Regions from separate parts of the Homo sapiens genome. Here region 1 is linked to region 2. Evidence: promoter capture Hi-C in 16 types of primary human blood cells and fetal thymus (Javierre and others, 2016). All regions are on one chromosome and are shown on one strand. The core of a region is centred on a gene start or on the middle of the fragment in contact, and the rest is flanking DNA. Distances in the headings are between cores, read along the strand shown. Region 1 has its middle 10 kb from the start of CTSF. Region 2 holds the start of RBM4B (RNA binding motif protein 4B).

What was found. The method cuts DNA at HindIII sites, captures the fragments that hold promoters and counts their contacts. A CHiCAGO score of 5 or more calls a contact.
Region 1: a contact is called between a fragment that was not itself captured here and the fragment with the promoter of RBM4B in region 2, in 17 of 17 cell types (naive CD4 T cells, total B cells, total CD8 T cells and 14 more). The highest score is 19.6, in naive CD4 T cells.

The regions. Positions count from the first base shown.
Region 1 is chr11:66,575,793-66,581,507 of GRCh38, forward strand. No RefSeq gene overlaps it. Among named protein-coding and RNA genes, the nearest start is that of CTSF, 10 kb to the left of the region's middle. RefSeq lists an enhancer at 2,924-3,737. The HindIII fragment of the contact is 7,863 bases long and covers 1-5,326 here.
Region 2 is chr11:66,674,818-66,681,296 of GRCh38, forward strand. RBM4B (RNA binding motif protein 4B) reads right to left here and starts at 3,070. Exons shown (of 4, transcript NM_031492.4): 1 at 2,947-3,070; 2 at 1,851-2,274. The coding sequence starts at 2,262. RefSeq lists silencers at 2,683-2,792, 2,993-3,272. The HindIII fragment of the contact is 1,797 bases long and covers 2,084-3,880 here.

The sequences.
Region 1 (5,715 bases), core at 145-2,644, 100 kb before region 2:
ACAAACCCCAGCCACATCTCCAGCACACAAGAACTTCCAAACGCCTAAACCGCAGTGGCCAGGCGTTCCTCCAGAACCACCTTCTCCAGGAGCTTGCTACAAGTGCCAGAAATCTAGCCACCAGGCCAAGGAATGCCCGCAGCCTGGGATTCCTCCTAAGCCGTGTCCCACCTGTGTGGGACCCCACTGGAAATCGGATTGTTCAACTCACCTGGAAGCCAGTCCCAGAGCCCCTGGAACTCTGACCCTAGGCTCTCTGACTGACTCCTTCCCAGATCTTCTTGGCTTAGCAGCTGAAGACTGACACTGCCCGATCTCCTCGGAAGCCTACAAGACCATCACAGACGCTCTAGGTAACTCTCACAGTGGAGGGTAAATCTATCCCCTTCTTAATCAATACGGAGGCTACCCACTCCACATTACCTTCTTTTCAAAGGCCTGTTTCCCTTGCCTCCATAACTGTTGTGGGTATTGACGGCCAGGCTTCTAAACCTCTTAAAACTCCCCAACTCTGGTGCCAACTTAGACAATACTCTTTTAAGCACTCCTTTTACTTATCCCCACCTGCCCAGTTCCCTTATTAGGCCGAGACACTTCAACTAAATTATCTGCTTCCCTGACTATTCCTGGAGTACAACTACATCTCATTGCTGCCCTTCTTCCCAATCCAAAGCCTCCTTTGTGTCCTCCTCTTGTATCCCCCCACCTTAACCCACAAGTGTAAGATACCTCTACTTCCTCCTTGGAGACCGATCACGCACCCGTTACCATCTCATTAAAACCGAATCACCCTTACCCCGCTCAATGCCAAGATCCCATCCCACAGCACGCTTTAAAAGGATTAAAGCCTGTTATCACTCGCCTGCTACAGCATGGCCTTTTAAAGCCTATAAACTCTCCTTACAATTCCCCCATTTTACCTGTCCTAGAACCAGCAAAAGCTCCCCTGCTGAGTACCTTGTGACCCCCACTCTGCCCGCCAGAGAACAACCCCCTTTGACTGTAATTTTCCTTTATCTACCCAAATCCTATAAAACGGCCCCACCCTTATCTCCCTTCGCTGACTCTCTTTTTGGACTCAGCCCGCCTGCACCCAGGTGAAATAAACAGCCATGTTGCTCACACAAAGACTGTTCGGTGGTCTCTTCACACGGACACGCATGAAAATCTGCAGCAATTTTTACAAGAGAGTGGAGGGCCCAGCAAGCTCAGTCGGTAGAGCATGAGACGCTTACATGGGAGTAAAGTTTAATTTATTTTGTTTTTCTTTCTCTCTCTTTTTTTTTTTCTTTTGAGAGGGAGTCTTGCTAATTTACACCATTCTCCTGCCTCAGCCTCCTGAGTAGGTGGGACTACAGGCGCCCACCACAACACCCAGCTAATTTTTTGTATTTTTTTAGTAGAAACAGGGTTTCACTGTGTTAGCCAAGATGGTCTTGATCTCCTGACCTCGTGATCCGCCCGTCTCGGCCTCCCAAACTGCTGCAAACTGCTGGGATTACAGGCGTGAGCCACCACACTGGGCCTTCTTTTTTTTTTTTTTTTTTAAAGACAGGCTCTTGCCAAACACGGTGGCTCATGCCTATAATCCCAGCACTTTGGGAGGCCAAGGCAGGTGGATCACCTGAGGTCAGGAGTTCGAGACCAGCCTGGCCAACATGGCAAACCCTGCGTCTACTAAAAATACAAAAATTAGCCAGGGGTGGTGGCATGCACCTCTAACCCCAGCTACTCAGAAGGCTGAGGCAGGAGAATCACTTCAACCCAAGAGGCAGAGGTTGCAGTGAGCTGAGATTGCACCACTGCACTCCAGCCTGGGAGATGGAGCAAGACTTTGTCTCAAAAAAAAAAAAGTTGCCAGGTGTGGTGGTGGGTGCCTCTAATCCCAGCTACTTGAGAGGCTGAGGCAGGAGGATTGCTTGAGCCCACAAGTCCAACCTAGGCAACACAGAGAAACCTGCATCTCTCTTAAATAAAAAATTTTAAAAGAGGGTAAAATCATAGCCTTTGGAGTCAGACTGACCAACCTGGGTTCTAATTCTGGTTCTGCCTCTTCGAATTGACTATGTGACCATGAGCAAGTTACTTTGTTTTTGGAGCCTATTTGTACATACAGAAAGAGCACCTGGCCTGATTAGGCTCTTCTGATCTTTAGTAGACATGAGCCAGGCATGCTGGACACCCTGCAGTGTTTGGGACAGTCCTGCAAAACAGATCATTGTTCCATGTCCTGCACAACTTTCTAATGTCCTATAAGTTATTTACATGAGTGGAAAACCTGCTTATAGTTATGAGCTGAAAACCCTAACTCTGTTAGTTATGTAAACACATTATATTATATACACAGTTTTAGTATATACTGAATTTTCCAGGAATGTAGCTAAATGTAAATCAAAAGAATTTTCCTTACATGAGCTCAGATCTTTACAAGGAGTCATTCACCATTCACAAGATCATGTCTCTGAAGTTAACATGCCTGTATCAGTCTGTATTTAAGAGTGGTCCCAAGCCAGGCTCACACCTGTAATCACAGCTGCTTGGGAGGCCAAAGAGGGAGGATCACTTGAGGCCAGGAGTTCAAGACCAGCCTGGGAAACATAATGAGATTTCATCTGAAAAAAGAAAAGAAAGAAAGAAGGAATGAAGGAAGGAAGGAAGAGAAAACAAAAAAGAGAACAGTCCCACTTCACAATGACCATTTCAGATGTCTTCTAGTGTGATCCTGACCAAGGCTGTGCATATGGAAATGTAGATTTCTTTCTTTCTTTTTTTCTTGAGATGGAGTCTTGTTCTGTCACCCAGGCTGGAGTGGAATGGCGCGATCTCTGCTTGCTGCAACCTCCACCTCCCAGGTTCAAGTGATTCTCCTGCCTCAGATTCCCTAGTAGCTGGGATTACAGGTACGCAGCATCACCACACATGGCTAATTTTTGTATTTTTAGTAGAGACGGTGTTTCACCATATTGGCCAGGCTGGTCTGGAACTCTCCACCTCAAGTGATCCACCTGCCTCAACTTCCCAAAATGCTGGGATTACAGGTGTGTGCCACTGAGGCCGGCCAATATTTCACTATTATATTATTATTGTTATTATTTATTATTATTATTTTAGTAGAGATGGAGTTTTGCCATGTTGCCGAGGCAGGTTTCCAACTCCTGGGCTCAAGTGATCCGCTGCCTCGGCCTCCCAAAGTGCTGGGATTACAGGCGTGCGCCACCGCGCCCGGCCTACCTCTTTCTTTTGAGGCCACCCCTTCTTCCCACCGCTAAGCGTTCCAGAATCCACAGTGATTAATTCGTCCGAAAGAGCAGGGGAGTGAGGGAGGACTGGATTCTGAGGGTGCTGGCAGAACAACTGGAGTCGGGGGTCCACGGCGGTCATGACTATCGACACACGGTGGCGCTGTTGAGGCTCGGTCCTGCGCATTCCCGAGTGTCAGGAGCCCTGGAAGAAGTTGCAGGCTTCTCACCTCCCACGCAGCCACTGCACTCCGAAGCGCAACCACTGAGTCAGGGAGGCAGGGCCAGAGAGGAGTTTGGCATCACCGGATAAAAATCAGCCGTAATTTACATCCCCTACGTGTGGCTAAAAGTTAAAATGGACAGATCTGGGTCCTGCGCTTCACACCACCTACATAGCATCAACGCCTGGATGTCAAACTTAGCCAGAGCTGCGTATTGTTTTCATCCTCACCCGTCCTCAGGAATCTCCCATCCCAGCATATGGCATCACTATTCCCCCAGCTCTTCAGTCCAGAGAATTGGAAATGTCATTGATTCTTCCTTTGCCTTCATGCCGCACGTCTAGCCCATCTCCAAGTGCCCTGGAGTCCAGCCCTCCCCCCAATATCTCTCCAATCTGTCCACTTCTCCCCATTCCCGTAGCCGCCGCTTATGACCAAGCCCTCACCATTGCTTGCCTGACCGAATCCACTCCTGCCTCCAACAAGCTCCTCTGCAGGCCACAGCTGGAGGGACCTCCTTAAACATAAACCGGCCGGCACGGTGGCTCACGCCTGTAATTCCAGCGCTTTGGGAGGTCAAGGCAGGTGGATCGCCTGAGGTCAGCAGTTCAAGACCAGCCTGGCCAACATGGTGAAACCCTATCCCTACTAAAAATACAAAAATTAGCTGGGCATGGTGGCGCACACCTGTAATCCCAGCTACTGGGGAGGCTGAGGCAGGAGAATTGCTTAAACCCGGGAAGCAGAGGTTGCAGTGAGGGGAGATCCTGACACTGCACTCCAGCCTGCACAAGAGAGCAAAACTCTGCCTCAAAAACAACGATTGCCGGGCACAGTGGCTCACTCCTGAAATCCCAGCACTTTGGGAGGCCGAGGTGGGCGGATCACGAGGTCAGGTGTTTGAGACCAGCCTGGCCAACATAGTGAAACCCCGTCTCTACTAAAAATACAAAAAATTAGCTGGGCATGGTGGAGGGCGCCTGTAATCTCGGCTACTTGGGAGGCTGAGGCAGGAGAATCGCTTGAAGCCGGGAGGCAGAGTTTGCAGAGAGCCGAAATCGTGCCACTGCACTCCAGCCTGGGCAACAGAGCGAGACTCCATCTCAAAAAAAAAAAAAATTACAATATCACATTACTTAAGATGGGGTATAGGTGAATTTGATCAAGTATGATAAGGTTGGGGCTCCCAAGAGGGACTAAGGTCAACAAGGGTGAAAAAATGGCACGGCTTGGCCCTTAGTTGGTTTGCCCTAATATTTGTAGAATGAATGAATGGATGGGGATGGATGGGCATATGAATGGATAGAATGGATAGATGGATAGAAGGATAGACATTCCAGGCCCCAGGCTGGAGTGCAGTGGCGCAATCTCGGCTCACTGCAACCTCTGCCTCCCAGGTTCAAGCGATTCTCCTGCCTCAGCCTCCCAAGTAGCTGGGACTACAGGCACCCACCACCATGCATGGCTAATTTTTTGTATTTTTAGTAGAGATGGGGTTTCACTGTGTTAGCCAGGATGGTCTTGATCTTCTGACCTGGTGATCCGCCCACCTCGGCCTCCCAGAGTGCTGGGATTACAGCTGTGAGCCACCGCGCCTGACCATGGGCCTCATGTTTTGAGACCAGACTTCTTTCCTGGACTGAATTCATCTCAGGGACTGTCCCTTAGCCTTGCGTGGGCAGCTCTGATCCACCTCCAGATCTTCCTGCTGAATCACGTCAAGAGTTAGATTGGGATACTGACTTTCCCCACCTCCACTCCCACCCCTAAAAGCCCCAGGGCCTCATACACAAATGGATTCACATCCTCCTCACTACTTTCTTTGCCAAGATCTCAGGCTATAGCACTTTAGAGCTTTCCAAAAGCTTCCTGTTACACCATAATCCCAGAATGACCTCTAACTCACTTCACCTTTGCATAACTCAGAGGAGACATTCAACAACAATCATAATAATACTCAGCTAGTGCTTGCTTTGGGCTCAGTGCGAAATCCTTCTCAGGAATTATCTTTTAATTTAAAAAGGTCATCTTAGGTGGTCTGAGGCCTGCAGACCTAGGAGGGCATGACATCTTAACAATTAAATCCCTGCCTTAACCAGCTGGCAAGTCGTCATTTGGAGGTTTGGTCAGATTTACGTATATTGATTTAAAACCTGAAGCTAGTCACACACCTGGACTAACACCACCATCTGTGGGGTGGGGGTGGGTACAAGTGTGGAAGCCTGTGATGCAAGAGCTGCAAGAAATCTGTC
Region 2 (6,479 bases), core at 1,820-4,319:
CCTTGGCCTCCCAAAGTGGTGGGATTACAGGTGTGAGGCACCGCACCCTGCCTGTATTAAATATATTTAAAAGGTAAGGGCATTCTGTATGACATTACTAGAATACCTCTGCAGTTTGTACCCAACTTTACATTCTTTTACATTTTGCTCATTACCTGTCAGGAGAAAACCCTCCTTCCCCAGTCTCCACTGTCCATCATGATGATTTCCCCCATCAAATGAAAATAATTAAGATACTTTTAAAAGCTGAAAATGCAACAACATTCCAAAATAAGAAAAAGAAAAACAAATGTAAGAAAAGCAAACCAATAAGGAAAGCTTCGCTATCACACTTTCAATAATTTTCTAACCAGAATAGAAACACTCATGGTTGCAAAGAGCAATCACCTGTCATCATAAAGAGCTTTTACTATCAAAACACTTTCACATCGATTTCTTCATTCTAGCCCCACTACAATCCTGTGAGGGAGGTACAGTAGGGATCATTAACTCCATAAGTGGGGACAATCTTAGTGAGGAAAATGAAGCAGAGAAATGTTAAAACACTTGTCCAAGGTCACACACTAGTTAATGGTAGGAAGTATCTGCAACCTTTGCCCTATGCTTTAAAGAGCAGCTAAAGGCCAAGGCATCACTGGCTGAAGCTGGAGATACTTGATGGTGCTCCTCTACCCATCTCCACTATGCAAACTTTCTTACCCTTCTCTGGTCAACTTTTCCTCTTCTCCCATTATTTTTCTCATTTTGTTTTTTAGTTTTAATAGAAGACCCAAAAGTACTTCTTAACAACCCCTTTAATGACACTCAGGGCAAAAAAGGTGTTGACTTAGGAACCACAAAAGTGGCTATGAACATGAGGTCCAAGACGATACTGTTAACAAAACACTTGTAGAACAGTGCTATCCAAAAGAATGTTCTATGATGATGGAAATGTTCTGTGTCTCTATTAATACGGTAGCCACAGGCCTCATGACTACTGAGTGCTTGAAACGTGTCTGGTATACACTTGAAAAACTGAATTTTAAATTTTATCTAATCTGTTAATTTCAATTTACTAAGCCGCATGTGGTTACCATATTAGCACAGTTCTAGAGTCTTCTGACAACCTCTTGTGGTATTAATGACAACATATGTACCTTTATTATCGGTATAAATAGTATGATATGCTCTACGATGCTTGTACTGAAATTTCTTCAGAAGCGGGACCATCATTCCCATTGAGTCTGATATATTTAGAAATTTCCTTTTCTGAGGGTGAAATGAACAGGTGGAGCAGAACACTCCATGGCATGTTTTTTTGACTCTGCTTGAAGAGACTGCACAACTTTGATCAACAAAAAGATACTCCCGCAGATCCAGACTTGCCACCCAGATTTATAATATAGGGCTTCCTCTAGATGTCTTTTTTCTTCTTTCCCACCAGTATCCACCCAAAGCAGTAAAGAATATAAATCTTAAGCACTTAAACCCTCAAATATAAGGCTTCCTGATCATCACCAAAGAAGCAGGTAAGCCACGGACCTTTATCCTCCCTTCTCTCATGAGGTACTCGTTTCCCCAAGCAGATTACACTTCCAACAGCACTCGAATCAATGCAAGAATCCCGCAGGGTAAAGTAACCCACAGTTTGTGATTCTATGCAGTCGGTGAGCAACATCTTAGCAAACCTGAAAAGGGGAAGTGTTTGCTTCCCCAGGGGTAAATTATGCTTAAGAGCGGTAAACATAATCTATTATTTCCAGCTAAAACAGAATGGAAGAGACCACCCAGCAAGTTCTATAGTCTTGTGTTCTTGCCTGTTTTGAGCTAGACCCCACTCGGCGCTACTACCCAGGCCCAGAGCAGTTCACCTTGAAACTCTGTGTTGTCAAGGCCCCTGATGGCCTCCACTGCATCCTCTGCCCGCTCCATGTGTACGAAGGCATAATCTTTCACGATGTCACATTCGATGACCGGACCATACTCCTCAAACTTGGCTCGAAGCTCTTGGTTGGTACAAGTGGGGCTGATGTTACCCACGTGTAACTTGGTTGAAGCTTTGCTCTTATTCTTGCTGGCTTCCACGTTGATGTTCACCCCATGAAGCTTGTAATGGTGCAGGTTGCGTATGGCATCCTCAGCTGCCGTCTTGTCTTCTATGTGCACAAAGCCGTAATTCTTAATGATGTCACATTCCAGCACCTTCCCATACTGCTCGAAGAGTGAGCGAATCTCCTGCTCTGTAGCCTCCCGGGGAAGGTTTCCGATGAACAGCTTCACCATCCTGACAAGAGCCTGGGAGAGAAACACAAGACTTCAAAAGTCAGGGGTGTGGTGGGAAATTTCGGTGCACTGCAGCATTTTCGTCTAATCCTCCAAAGTTCTTGCACCTTCAAGACCCTCGTACAGACATTCATTATTCTTCCTCAATAGAAGAAGGGCGGTTTGTTCTCGAGAAGTGCGAGCTATGCGTGACATGCAAACAGGAGGTCGAGGGTCAGCATGCATAGCCCAGTCTATCATCTCCGTGAAGTGGAGCGCAATGAAATACCAGAATTAGCTGCTTCATGTCTTAAAATGAGGGAAGAGAAAAGCCCAAGCAAAGGCAAGGGGCATCAATCGCAGTGCGCCTGGTAACAAGGTTTTGGAGGGAAATCTGTGTACCTCTCCTGCGCGCACTAGCGCCTTTCAAGATACTCTAAAAAGAAAAAAGTCCCCTTTCCCCCAAACCGGGGACCAACCACCTCGCCCCCAGCGGCCCACCCTCCAGCTTCTTCGCCCCAACAAAGACTCGACCCGACCCCTGCCCCGCCTCCTTCCGGAGACCCGGCCCCGCCTCCTCCCGTTGTCTTCCCAGACCTCCCGCTGCAAAATGAGAAACCCAAATCCGGGCCGTGCAGTCTGCCGGAGGCCCGGCCCGACCCGCCCCCGAGCTCCCCACATCACACACACACGACCCCCTCGCACCTCCGGGTGGCGGCAGCGACGGCGGCTCCCACGTCAGAGAGAACCTTACAAAATGGCGACGGCCGCTCGAGCCTGGACGCGACCGGGCCCTTTCTCGCGCGCCAGCTCACGCACGCGCGAGTGCGCGCTGCTTCCCTCCCCTTCCCCTCGCGGGAGCCGAGTGACCAATCCCGAGGCTGCATACAAATGACCACGCAGCACGGGGGCGGGGCCTGTTGGTGGTGGCGCGGCGCCGCGGAGGTCAGCCCACCCCCAGCCCCAGCCAGCCAGTCACCACCCTGGAAAGGGTCGCCACTGCTGCGTCAGAGGGGCTCTGAACGCAACCACTGCCTAGAAAAGCGGAGGCCTTGGGGAGTCGCTCACCACAATGGGTCCTGCTCTTGGGCCCTTTGAGGGGGGCGGGGAGCTAATGACAGAGGAATCTCCCCGAGGGCCCTAAAAAGGGGCTTTTGTAGCGGGCTGGCCGGCTTCTGTGGCAGCTTGGGGCAACATTTCAAAAATACAGGTGCGCCACATTTTAAGCAAAACTAGTCATTGTTTTGTAGCGCTTTAAACATTATTTTAAAGTTTGTCATTGCAGAGGTGTTATTTATTGCTACGGAAACTGAGAACCAAGGGGCAGAAAGATAACCTGGCAGAACTGGGACAGGCCTAAGAGGCATTGCTACCCAGGCTACGCTTAGTCATGTTTTGTTTGCTCGTGAGTATCCGTGGTCTGATTCTCTCTCACTCATTGTGTGTCCATCACAGTCCTGGTCTGTGGTGAGCACGCCAGAGGAATACTTGGTGGAGAGGCCCAGCGAGGTCCCTAGTTCTGGGTGGGACAGGGTCTCCTCGTACACACCAAGCTGGAAGTCTAGGCAACTGAGTTTCCCGACTGTCTAGCATTCAAAATTCAGCTGTGGTCCAAGGGCACCTCCTGGCGGTAAAAACAAGCTTAGGCGTGCCAGGTGCGGCGGCTCACGCCTATAATCCCAGCACTTTGGGAGGCCAAGGCGGGCGGATCACGAGTTCAGGAGTTCGACACCAGCTTGGCCAACATGGTGAAACCCCGTGTCTACTAAAAATACAAAAAATAGCCCGGCGTGGTGGCGGGCGCCTGTAATCCCAACTACTCGGGAGGCTGAGGCAGGAGAATCGTTGGAACCCGGGAGGCGGAGGTTGCAGTGAGCCGAGATGGCGTCACTGCACTCCAGCCTGGGTGACAGAGCAAGACTCGGTCTCAAAAAAAAAAAAAAAAGAAGTTTAGGCTGATTCCCCACTGTCACCTTCCAGCAAAGAGTAGCCTTTTATGGAGATTGATGGATTGGGTTTATCTCCTAGTAGAGCCCGCCAGGGAGGTTGTCAGCCACCATTCCTCATTTTAGTGGCTCCATAATGGCTTCTCTGATACCATCTGGGACACATTCCCCAGGCTGCCCTCTTCCACCCCAGCTACTTGGATATGTTCTTTACCTGAGTTCTTTTTGTTTCTCAGCCATTTCAGAAGAGGCACTGTCCTTCCAATTTTATTTTATTTTTATTTTTTGTTTAATTTTTTAAAGACAGAGTCTCACTGTGTCGCCCAGGCTGGAGGGCAGTGGTGCGATCTCGGCTTACTGCAACCTCCACCTCCTGCGTTCAAGCCATTTTCCTGCCTCAGCCTCCCGAGTAGCTGGGACTACAGGCGTGCGCTACCCCCCAGCTAATTTTTGTATTTTTAGTAGAGACAGGGTTTCACCGTGTTGGCCAGGCTGGTGTCGAACTCCCGACCTCAAGCGATCCGCTGGCCTTGGCATCCCAAAGTGTTGGGATTACAGGCGTGAGCCACCTCGCCCGGCCCTTAACTATTATTACTATTATTTTTGAGTCAGGGTGTCACTTTGTTGTCCAGGCTAGAGTGCAGTGGCACCATTATGGCTCACTGTAGCCTCGACCTCGCAGGCGCAAGTGATCTTCCTATCTTAGCCTCTGGAGCAGCTGGGACCACAGGTGTGGGCCACCCCATCCAGCTAATTTAAATTTTTTTTTTTTGTAGAGATGGGGGTCTCACTGTGTTGCCCAGGCTGGTCTCAAACTTCTGGGCTCAAGATGTTTCCACCACAGTCTCACAAAATGCTGGGATTCAGGTGTGAGCCACTGCACCCGGCTTATATGTGCTGCTAATTTAAAATAGCACTATCCTATGTTAATATTATCTAATGTTTATGCCCAAATTTCTCCTGGATTGTTACAAATGTCTTTTTACAGTTGATTTCTTCTAATCTGGACTTAAACATTGTACATTTGTATGCATTATGTAAATGGTGTGTTTTGAGTTGTATAGCTGTGTCTTACTATTTTTCCACTAAGGGCTATGTCGCCGCATGATGTCTAACTAGCGAGTAACGCAGTCCTCTGTGGTGTACAGTCACATATTGTACCTGTTCATCTCTGGGCATAGGGCACTCAGCTTCCAGCTCTCTGTCATTATAAACAAGGCTGCAGTGAACATGCTTAAGTATGTGCCCTAATTCTGTGTGAGAATTTGGGGGGATATAAAACCAGAGGTGGAATTGCTGGGTCATAGAGTATACGTAGAACTCACCTGTCTAAGTAGCACTGAATTCTCTGGAAAAGCTGCACCAGCATACTCTTCCACCTGTAGCATATGAGGGGCCTTGTATCTCTACATCCCTGCCAGTGATAGACATTATCCGCTTTTCTAATTTTTGTCAGTCTAATAGATATAAAGTGATATTTCATTGTTGCTTTAATTTGTATTTCTCTGGTTACTAATGATTTTAAGCATCCCTTCTTGTTGTCTTTTTTTTGTGTGTGATGGAGTCTCACTCTGTCGCTCAAGCTGGAGTGCAGTGGTACTATCTCGGCTCACTGCAGCCTCTGCCTCCTGGGTTCAAGCGATTCTTCTGCCTCAGCCTCCTGAGTAGCTGGGATTACAGGCGTGTGCCACCACCACGCCCGGCTAATTTTTGTATTTTTAGTAGAGACGAGGTTTCACCATATTGGTCAGGCTGGTCTTGAATTCCTGACCTTGTGATTCGCCCACCTCGGCCTCCCAAAGTGCTGGGATTACAGGTGTAAGCCACCACGCACAACCTTTTTTTTTTTTTATTAGACGGAGTCTTGCTCTGTCGCCCAAGCTGGAGTGCAGTGGTGCGATCTCAGCTCACTGCAACCTCCGCCTCCCAGGTTCAAGCAATTCTCCTGTCTCAGCCTCCTGAGTAGCTGGGACTACAGGCACGTGTCACCACACTTGGCTGATTTTTGTATTTTTAGTAGAGACGGGGTTTCACATTGGTCAGGCTGGTCTCGAACTCCTGACCTTAGGTGATCCACCCACCTTAGCCTCCCAAATTGCTGGGGTTAAAGGCGTGAGCCACTGTGCCCAGACTTGTTTTTTGAGAAAGGGTCTTGCTTTGTCATGCAGGCTGGAGTGCAGTGGCACGATCATAGCTTGCTGTAGCCTCTAGCTCCTGGGCTCAAATAATCCTCCTGCTTCAGGAGGCTGAAGCCCTCAGCCCTCAGCCTCCCAAGTAGCTAGGACTATATGC